Regions from separate parts of the Homo sapiens genome. Here region 2 is linked to region 1. The links are contacts of gene promoters, found by promoter capture Hi-C in human tissues and cell types (Jung and others, 2019). All regions are on one chromosome and are shown on one strand. The core of a region is centred on a gene start or on the middle of the fragment in contact, and the rest is flanking DNA. Distances in the headings are between cores, read along the strand shown. Region 1 holds the start of TNFRSF11B (TNF receptor superfamily member 11b). Region 2 overlaps LOC105375723 (a long non-coding RNA gene).

Region 1 (5,703 bases), core at 515-3,014:
CTAAATAGAAACATATATTATTTAGTGGAAACCCTGAAATTTAACTCATTGCTAGTATGTTTGTTATTAATTAAATCTTTGACAAAATAAAAAGGGCTAGGAAGAATAAAAATGTCCCCATATTAACGGCAGCATTATTTATACTAGCCCAAAACTAGGATGATTAAATCAATTGTGGTGTGTCCATACAATGGAATACCATACAGCAATGACAACGGACAAATTATTCTATATCCTACAGTAGAGATGAATCTCACAACAGAACTTTCAGTGAAAGAAGTCAAATGCAAAAAATTGAATAAGTTCCATTTATAGGAAGTTCAAATACAAGCAAAATTCATCTATGTTGTTCAAATCAGAATACTGATTGTTCTGGCCATAGACACAGTAGTGATGGAAGCTCTTGAGGTGCCGATAATATATTTCTTGATCTGTGTGCTAGCTCACAAGTGCTCACTTAGAAAAACTGCATTAGGCACTTACCACTTGCACAATTCTCTATGTGTTATATTTTAATAAAGGTTTACTTTTTTAAAAGCACTCCATAGTATCTCTAGCGATGAAGTTATACACACACACACATACATACATATATATTTTAACATACTTATGGGTAGATTCCTATCCAACTTACCTGTTCTTTAGTGTCTTTACTATTTATTTACTTATTTATGTTTCTGTATCCTAGGAACTAAGTAGAAGACTACCTAGCCTTCTATTCATTATTTGTGGGTTGGAGGTTGAAGTTCAAACATTTACTCAAACACATCCAAAACACATATGTGGCTTAAATATGGCTTTTCCTAGCCTTGCATAAATGTCTGATTCATATCTTGATGTACTCTACACTCTAGTGTCATAGAGAAAATAAGTCATTGGTCATAGAAAAACCTACATGCAAATCTTATTAACTTGATCAAAACCTAAGCTTAAAAAAAAAGCTAAGTCACAGAGATTCCTTTCTTTTCCAAATAACATTTTAAACACAATTTTTAGCCCTATTTAGTGAACTTCAATTCTTTAGATATGTTTTAGAACATAACATACTGCCAATATTCTCCACAGTATATTGAAGTTGAGAAGTGAAATAATTTTAACAATAAAATTTTATTAAAACATTACACAGTTAAGAAGTGTGTGTGTGAGAGATCTTTTCTCCTAATTATTCAAAATTTCACATAATATTTACATTAGAAAAATCTATCATGTCATATTCTAATTATAATGGTTTTAAGAAGACTAACGTCTTCTTCCAACTTACTCTGAATCTAAGGGACCACTTCTTTGCCACTAATAATAAAAGTTCAAGTTCATTAAGCAAAGATAGTATGGACTACATGAGGGCGTTAATATTCTGAGATGAAGACAGAAGGTTAATGACTAAAACTTTCAAACAAGTTTCTCTCTCTCTCTCTCTCTCCCTCTCTCTCGCTGTCTGTCTCTCTCTTGCTGTCTTCCATAAAGTCAGCAGGAACTTTGCAGCGTAAAAGGACACCCTAGGGGAAGCATGGCATAACTTGAAAGCGGTTTCCTGCTCCAGCCTAACCCCAAGCCTCTCCTGGGAGGGAGCGAGTGGAGCCTTCTCCCCGCCGGTCCGCTGGGAGGTTGGGAGACCAGGTGGCAGCAGCCTCCCCAGGCGCCGGGCACCCGTCGGCTGGCCCAGGGACTTACCACGAGCGCGCAGCACAGCAAGTTGTTCATTGTGGTCCCCGGAAACCTCAGGGGCTTGGAGGCGGCGGCTGGGCGAGCGCTCCGGTGCGTCTCCGCAGCCCGTGCGCTCATCACGTTATATATAGCGTCCCGGCAACAGGAAGTATCGCCTGCCTTTGATCAGTCATTTTTCTATCCTGGACCAAACTTTGCACCTTTCTTTTTTAGGAAGCTTGGGCGGGAGCGGTCGGGGGGTGTGCAGAAAGCTCCAGGGTTAACGCTTTCAGGGCTGGGGCGGAAAGGATCCCCCAGGGAGGTGGGGCGTGAGGGGTGGGGCGGTGGTGTCTGGCCCCTGGGAGAGCAGGGGAAAAAAAAGCCACCGGGCTGAGGAACAAGGCGGCTGCTGTCTCCGCGGGGCTCTGAGGTTTCCCGGCCCCTTCCCGCCAGCGGCCAGCCTCCTGGCAGCCGGGACCAGCGGTGGGAGGGCTGGGCACACGCTGGGCAGCTGCTGTGCTTGTGTCTCCTCCACCCTGAGAGTCCGATCCAGCCAAGATCCGGACGCAGTTGGAGTGTGTCCCAGACCTTTGTCCTCTCGCTGGGCGAAAGCTGTGAGTTTCCGCCGTACCCGGCTGCCTGACCCCTTCACTTCGGGTTCTGAAACCTCAAATTACAGGGCCCCTCTTTATGCATGGCATTGTCTGAGCCCTTTTCGGGGAGTTCGCAATCATTCATCTTCAAGTTTACATAAACCATGTAGTAGGAATTTTTCTAACTAATGTCTGATTGGCCCTAAAGCCCGTGCTATTCTGCATTCACTCCTTGTTATCTGGGGTAGTTAGAGCCAGAGAGAATCTGCAGAGTGAAAATTGGACTGCCTGGGGCAGGGATAACCTTGCGGAGCACTGTTCCCTTCACCAACCCCACCATCATCAAAGGGCTATTGGTATCGGAGCTTCCTACGCGCTGAACTTCTGGAGTAGCCTCCTCGAGGTCTTTCCACTAGCCTCAAGCTATCGACAGAAGTTTGGCACTTTGCTCTAGGGTTCGCTGTCTCCCCCATTAATTCCCTGGTCTAGAAGTTAGACTTGATGACTTGTAAAGTGTGGTCCCATTCATGGATTACAGTTCGCGGGTTGCCACTGAAATTGTTTACAGATGGCTGAAAAAGTCCCTGCAGAGCTGCTTCCCCATCAGGGCCAAGTGTTCAAGTTATATGTCTCCAGAGAAGGGCAAATACTGCCTTTCACCAGATTCAAGGGAAGGAAGGTGAAGAATCAGGAGAGGGGACCCCTGGGGAGCAAGGATGGCTTACCAGGATCAGAGCATCTGCCCCTTCCAAGGGACATCCTTCCACCACGAGTTCAAAGTGGATCCACAGACTGTTCCATCCTGCAAATTACAGAAGACGGGGTGTCATTCAGCTTTGTCCCTCAAGGGCCAGAATGTAACAGCATGCTGGTTTCTTAAGTGAACTAGTGAATAAATGTAGCTCAGTGAGTGTGGACAAAATTGTATGACTCCAAATCACTCCTTGTATTTTGAATCGTAGTTTTGACATCTGCAACCTGAGATATCAACACTTAGACTTGCCATGGGACTCAAGTCAATCCAAGTGTTAGTAGTGAAACACAATATAAATAGCAGTATTATTGTTTTTGTTAGAGTAATGTTTGTCTAGGATATTATTTGAAGGTGTTTTTCTCAGAACATAAAATGATGCCAATATGTGGGTGTCAGACCTTGGAGAAAACTAATCAATAACTGAGTCCTTCAGTGTTAACCCTGGGAAAGGTTTACGTCTCCCTGAGCCTCATCTATAAGATAAAAACACACTGATATTGCAGAAACGTAAGAGAAAGCAAATGGGAGCGTTTAAAAAACAATTATATAAATGATGGTAATCACTAATTATGAGCATTAAATAAAGTAATGCATGTAAAATAACTCAGCACAATGCCTGGCCCATAGGAAATATTTCCTATAGTTATGATTATTCTAGGGGAATACCTAAGATACTGGCCTTTGTAACCTAGATTTGAGCCCCAACTCCAATTTTTCCTAGCTCTGTGACCTCAGACTAGTTGCCTAACCTATTTTTGTTTCCATTTTTTGTTATTCCTATAATGAGGATAATAATCACATCTACCTCAAAGTATCATAACGGTTATTATAAAGATTGAATTAGATAAAAGATGTAAAACACTAAAAATAGTGTCCGGCACATAGTGCTCATTAAGTGTCATTATCATCTGAGGTTCTCATGGGGACGTTTGTATGAGCACAAGGCAAATCTAGATTGTAAGCTCCTGAGGGCAGGAACTACTTATTTTTCTATGGTATTCGCTGAAGCTTTTAGCTCAAATTCTGGCTCTCCCTGCAAAGGAGCGATGGTGGTAATTTGGGGATTCAGGGGATTGGTAATTAGCTGTAAGCTGGAGACAGGTTGGGGCACCATTTATCTAGAATCACAAAATAGACTGTGTATTGATTGTGCATCTCAGGGCCTAACTGTGGGCCCTTTATTCATCACTCACTGACAGAAAACTGACAGAGACCATGAATTATCAGTCATTTCATCTGTTATATTCTTGGAGCAATCTGGCCAATCCCCTAGGGTATTTCTAAGTAATCCACTACTGTGGGCTGCAGGCTTTGAACACTCTGAGCTGAAGTTCATTTTAAGATTTAATTGGAATGGACCCAGGGATTCCAGACTGAACCCAAAAGGGGACATTTGAACAGTAACTGGAAGACTACATTCATCTTCCTGTGACAGATCCCTCATTGGCAGAGGCCATCGGTGACATTAAGCAGAATGTTCCGTAACTTTAACCTTCTGTTTCTAGGCACCAGATATATGTGACGCTAACTTTCTAGGGGACACCTCATCAGATATTCCTCATCTCTTCTTTCCTAAACTCTTCTGAATTAGGTCCCACATTGAATAGATTTTGGATTGACCCCCAGTGACTGTCTACTGCCCCAAAACCCCATTTCAGCCACTTCTAAAGCTTAGAGAAATGGTGCCTGAATATTAGGAGTTCCTACAGGGAAGACACTTTATCTCTTTAGCACAGTAGCACAGCCTCTGATCCAGATGGTCATTTATAATCATCATCATAATGGAAATACCTGAGACTCAGGAAAGCAATTGACTTAGGTGATTTGGGAGACAAGGCATGCAGCTCTAAGTTAACTGAAAAGTGTCTAAAACATCTTGTGCCTACACTTCCTCACCTGAAAATTGGAAATACCGGTTCTGGTTATGCAGAGAAAAGGATATTAACTTGAAGAACAAGAACAAATTCCTTGTTATTTCATGGTTATTAAAAAGAAGTTTTATTCTGATTTTATAAAAGGAACAGAGAAAAAGGAGGAGAAAAACAGCAGATAGCCCATTGACTTATTTTATTAATGTTTATAATTTCTTCCTTAAAAAACACAATTTTAACCATATTAATATTTGAGACACAAACTATTTGCCTTTATAGGTCATCTAGACTATGTTTTAAAATGTATATGTGGGTATGTCTTTTAAAAAATAATGTACAGAAAGGTAAAGGTAAAGTTATCTAGCTGACTCACTTTCTGATGAAGAAAGATGTCACTTTCTGATGACATCACTTTCTGATGAGGTCACCAGTTGTTTAAGGGTTTGCCTGAACGTGTTGGACTAGGGGTAAGTAGTTGCTACTTATGGTTCACTACTCACCTATAATGTGATTCTGGCATTGCTAGCCATTCATTACCATAGCCCTTTCTTTGAAAATTGGCCTTAATCACACAAATATATAAACAAGACTGTGTATCACATGAAAAGAAATAAGTGGCAATAGAAGGACCTGACTCCATGTACCTTTTAACAAGAACTCTGAAAACTGCGTATATTGACAAATGATGAACACATGGTGAAGAGGTGGGGAGGGAGAGCCTTTGGGCAAGGAGGACAGGGTGTTAGTAGGTCTCCCAGTGGGAGGAAGCAAGGTGGGATTTCAAGGAACTAGAAATATTCCAGTACGGTTGCTGCATGGAGAGCAAGGCATTGTGTGGACC
Region 2 (5,167 bases), core at 1,740-4,239, 110 kb before region 1:
CTGGGATTACAAGTGTGAGCCACCATGCCTGGCCAGGTATTTCTTTAAAACAATGCAAAATAGGCTAAGAATAGCACATAGTGTGTACCTTACACTATAGTACAAGTTTCTGTCTGCGAGTATCTGGGATGGGGGAGAAAAAGATATATACATTTATTTACATTTTAAGGTCCTGTCAGAACTATTTCTTTCAGGATGCATTCAGCTTTAATGTATCAAGGGAAAGAGAGTAGGTTTGATGACTTGTTATGTAAAACATTATGTGTGTATTGTATAAAATTTTACCCAGGTATAGATAACTATCCAATCAGGAATTACAGTTAAATACAAATCTGACATTATTTTGGGGAAGCCTATATTTCAGAGGCATCTAGTATAAGTGCTTCTGTTATTCAGAATCTTTGCTAATTAACATAAATTGATGATAGAAATATACTCTCTTGTTGAAATAAATTGATTAAATTTCCATTCAATATGAGTGGATTGGCTAAAATATTTGAAAGATACACCCTACTTTTGTGTGAAATCGGCATAATAACTGAGACTTGGAGCCTAGGTTGGATGTTTACACCTTGATTTCTAAATTGTCTTGGGTTTAGTCACTGTAGGATGACAGAATACTCCTTCCAGAAAAATGTTGTGGTTTCCCCAAGTGACCTTTTATACAATGTATGGTTGCAACACTTAAAAAAAGACAGAGAGCTGAGACTTCTTTGTGCTTACAGAACCAGTTGTGTAAAACCTTTTTGTGCTTGCATAAAATAAAACTTTAATAAATATGTCTGTGTTGCAAAATTTGATCACAACTGGATGGCAAAATTGTGGTGGATTGTCTAATCTCCAACCAAGGTTAAGAGTTTGCATGATCAAATTTATCTCAGTTAACAATAGAGTTTGTATTATGGCCTTCAATTCCATCTTCCTTTAATTCAATTTTGGGCCAGGGGTCACTTCACCAGTGGTCAGCCCCTGGAACTCCTAACCATGTCTGTTTTGTTAGGAGGCAGCCCCTCCAAGTGGCTGTTAATAAGGAAGTCAAGGTGAGCCAGCCACATTGCTCTCCATTGCTCCATATTCCCCTGCAGCAGCCGCATCTAAGGTTTCATGGGTATATCAGACCATATTGATGAGTTGGGGTTAACTAAACACAGTGACAATGTTAAACAGGAAAAAATAGTAAGTGACCTGACATGGCTGCGCACATAGGTTGTGGACACTTTAAAAATAATGCTCCATAAAATATCTCTTTCACTGGTAAGGTTCTACATGGACACACCAACTTGCCTTATTATCCTACTGTATGTCCCTGTCATTCAACCTGTCCACTCTGAGTCTTTACCCTCCACCTTCCACCACCCATTATTTACACACATCTTTTTGGCCGTAGTGTTTATTGTCACATTTGCAGGATATATTGAAACAGAGTAATCCTCAGCAATGCATTTCCTAAATTCTGGCATTTTCTAATCTGAAACACAGGCTTGTTCTATTTCTCCATTCTGTTTAGAACAAAGGTCAATTCCTATCCAATGCCCAGGCCACATTTCAAGCCAACCAAATCAGAATTTCTGAGGGTAGAACCATGAATTTTTTAAGCCCCCCAGGCCACAGTTAAGAACCACTGTTCTGGCCGGGTGCGCTGGCTCACGCCTGTAATCCCAGTACTTTGGGAGGCCGAGGCGGGCAGATCACGAGGTCAGGAGATCGAGACCATCCTGGCTAACACGGTGAAACCCCATCTCTACTAAAAATACAAAAAATTAGCTGGTGGCGGGCACCTGTAGTCCCAGCTACTCAGGAGGCTGAGGCAGGAGAATAGCGTGAACCCGGGAGGCGGAGCTTGCAGTGAGCTAAGATCACGCCACTGCACTCCAGTCTGGGGGACAGAGCAAGACTCCGTCTCAAAAAAAAAAAAAAGAACCACTGATCTAAAAGAACAACAAGAGGGACGGCGAGAGGGTGGCTGGCTTTGACATTAAGTACAAGACCATATACATTTCCTAGAAGCAAACATGAAGTCTCAGACACAGTATAGTCTAAATATGTTGCATGACAAATACATAATTTCCTAATTGTAAAATAATTTAAACAATTGTCTCTTCCCATACTAAATATAACACCTTACCTTATTACAAGCAGAAGTTCTGGTTTCTGTTTGTTAATTGAATTATTGATTTCAGATTGTACCTTAGTGGCCTTTGGTACATTAAAGAACAACAAAAAAACAAGTTCAGAATCTACCTGCAGTTTATTGAGATTTTAAAATCAAAATACCTTCATTATCTTATTTTTGCTATTTAATGTTTTACTTTTGAATCAAATTATATACTCACATAATTTAAAGGGTTAAATTGTTTTAGAATTATTTATTGAGAAACAGCTACTTTATGTCCCTTGTCTTATTTTCTTTTCTCACAGTAAAACATTTTTATAGTTTCTGCTTCATTTACTGAGTGCTGTGACACACATTTCAGCTCCTTTTGTCATCTTGTTCTCTCCTTACTGAGCCCTGGGCTCTCTACATTTGCTCACATTTGTAAGTTGATAGATTCATTAGGTTAAGTAACTTGGTGCTGAATTTTGATCATAGTTTTCATTTATTGTGATGGATTGTTTTCTTGAAGGCGTTCTTAAGTAAACTTTTGTTTTTTCCTTTATCTTCTTATTTTTTTCCTTCCTTCTTTGTTTATGTCTTGTGCTGCTTCCTTTAAAAAATTATTGAGGTGAAATTCATAGAACATAAAATTAATCACTTTAAAATTTACAGTTCAATGTTATGTAGTACATTCACAAGATTGTGGAACCATATCTTTATCTTGTTCTACCACATCTTCTCCCCAAAAGGAATCTTGTTGCCCACCAAGCAGTCTCATTACCTTTTGGTAAGACAAAATACTTATCATATTAGCTACCTATTGCTGTGTAACAAATGGCTGAAACATAGCGACTTCAACCAACAATCATTTCTTAGTCTTACAGTTTTTGAGAGTCAACAATCAAGACATGGCCTAGACTTCAACTTAGCATTTTGCACAAGGCTCTGCTCAAGGTGTCAGGAGCTGCTGTTGTGTCAAAGCTTGACTTAGAAGGAGTCCCTTTCTAAGCTCGCTCATGTGGGTGTTGGCAGGATTCATTTTCTTGCAGGCTGTTGGACTAGCGGCCTCTGTTCCTTGCTAGGTTTTGGCCAGATGCCGGCCTCAATTTCATGCTGTGGACCTTTCCACAGGGAAGCTCACATCAGGACAGTTGGCTCCGTCAGAACAAGTGAGGAAAAAATAGAAGAGAGAAAGACAGAGACAGAGACAAGACAGCCAGCAAGTCTTTTTGTAACCAGTCTTGGAAGTGACATCACGTCATGTTGTCCCTATTTTATTTGTGAAAAGCCATCACTAAGGTCCAGCCCATACTAAAAGAGAGAGGATTACACAACGGCATGAGTCAGCAATGTGCTGAGAATTGGGGATCCCTAGGGGGTATCTCAGAGGCTGCCTACCATGCATGGCATTCTCCAGATTTTTTTGGTTTGGAAATGGTGGAAATTTAAGGATCTATTATCCATCTTTTGAGTAATTGTTCATAATTAGAAGGTGGTTTTGTTTTTTCCCATTGTACCTCTAAAAGAATTTACATTAATTTAGGGGATAAAAAATTTACACAGGCAAAACACAACAATTAAGACTGAACACAGGCCGGGCGCGGTGGCTCACGCCTGAAATCCCAGCACTTTGGGAGGCCGAGGCAGGCGGATCACGAGGTCAGGATATCGAGACCATCCTGGCTAACACAGTGAAACCCTGTCTCTACTAAAAATACAAAAAAATTAGCCGGGCGCGGTGGCAGGCGCCTGTAGTCCCAGCTATTCGGGAGGCTGAGGCAGTAAAATGGCGTGAACCCGGGAGGCGGAGCTTGCAGTTAGCAGACGTCGTGCCACTGCACTCCAGCCTGGGCGACAGAGCGAGACTCCGTCTCAAAAAAAAAAAAAAAAAAAAAAAAAAAGACTCAACACAATAAGCTTTGAATATATGTGCCTTGCACATTAAAAAGGCAGTCAGATAGAATTGAATAATTATTATAAACCTATACCCAAATGACTGTCTCCGTAAATCCATATCCTATATCCTAGGTATGGAGCAAAAATATATTTATCATTAAGAAGAAGAAAGATCAATACTGGCTGCAGCTACTAAGGAGGGAACACACTTGAAAACCCCTACTTAAAGGAGAAGGAACACTATGGTGGTTATTTGAGCAACAGGAAACAGATGATATTTAACATGGAGAAGAGAATATTTTGTGAGTTTTGGCAGCTGTTTTGGGATTTGCCATCATAAGAGGGCTGTGATGTCTTCGTGTTTCCCTGGCGGTGGACATGGAACCTCAGAGTAGAAAGAGCTTCTTGAAGATCTAGGTTGTGTATCCTGCATCCTATCCCACCCCACCCCAGCCAACTAATTATGTAGCTTTGAGTAACTTACCTAACATCTTTAGGTTTCCATTTTCCTGTCTGGAAATTGTGAAAATCACTGCATATATCTCAAAGAGTTGTTACAATAATAAACTTGTAGTAGAAGTTTAAGGATACATTATACTATATTTGCTTATACTTAATGAGGACTAAGAGTTGGAAACATTTAGAGGGGTTACGTTTTGCCTTAAAATTAAGAGGCATTAAGTATTAAGCCAATAGTGGTTAGCTTTTCACTTAATATTGGGAAGAATTATCACAGTTTGGAGTAGAAGTTAGCAAACTCTGTCAGGTGGGATTTTGCCCACGGCCTGTTGTTGTATGGACTGTTAGTGAGGCATGGTTTTTATACTTTTAAAGTGTTTTTGATGAAGTAGCAGCAATAGAAGTTGCAGTGGAGACTGTCCATGGCCCACAAAGTCAAAACTATTTGCTATCTGACCCTTTACGAAAAATGTTTGCCAAACCTGAAAATCTTTCTCAAAATGAGACGGCATCCTTGGGGAGTGAGTGGGTTTTCTATCAATTGAGAAGGCAGTAGAATGAGGATGATGTAGGAAGAAATGAAGTTGTGTAAAAAGAATTCAAACCCTAGAGGACAACTGAAGAAATATCTTCTGAAGTCCTTCTCAACCATAAGATTCTACCAGTTTGTGGCTGCCCATTCTGTATTTTGAAAGCTCTGGTTATTAGAGAGATCTT

The links. The method cuts DNA at HindIII sites, captures the fragments that hold promoters and counts their contacts. A contact is called where the count stands out against the background at its distance.
Region 2: a contact is called between a fragment that was not itself captured here and the fragment with the promoter of TNFRSF11B in region 1, in 2 of the 25 tissues and cell types used here (lymphoblastoid cells and mesenchymal stem cells).

The regions. Positions count from the first base shown.
Region 1 is chr8:118,950,121-118,955,823 of GRCh38, forward strand. TNFRSF11B (TNF receptor superfamily member 11b) reads right to left here and starts at 1,765. Exons shown (of 5, transcript NM_002546.4): 1 at 1,672-1,765. The coding sequence starts at 1,701. It also overlaps a transcript of COLEC10 not described here. The HindIII fragment of the contact is 2,925 bases long and covers 1,406-4,330 here.
Region 2 is chr8:118,843,235-118,848,401 of GRCh38, forward strand. All of the region lies in intron 1 of LOC105375723 (a long non-coding RNA gene), which reads right to left. Among named protein-coding and RNA genes, the nearest start is that of TNFRSF11B, 110 kb to the right of the region's middle. The HindIII fragment of the contact is 4,724 bases long and covers 628-5,167 here.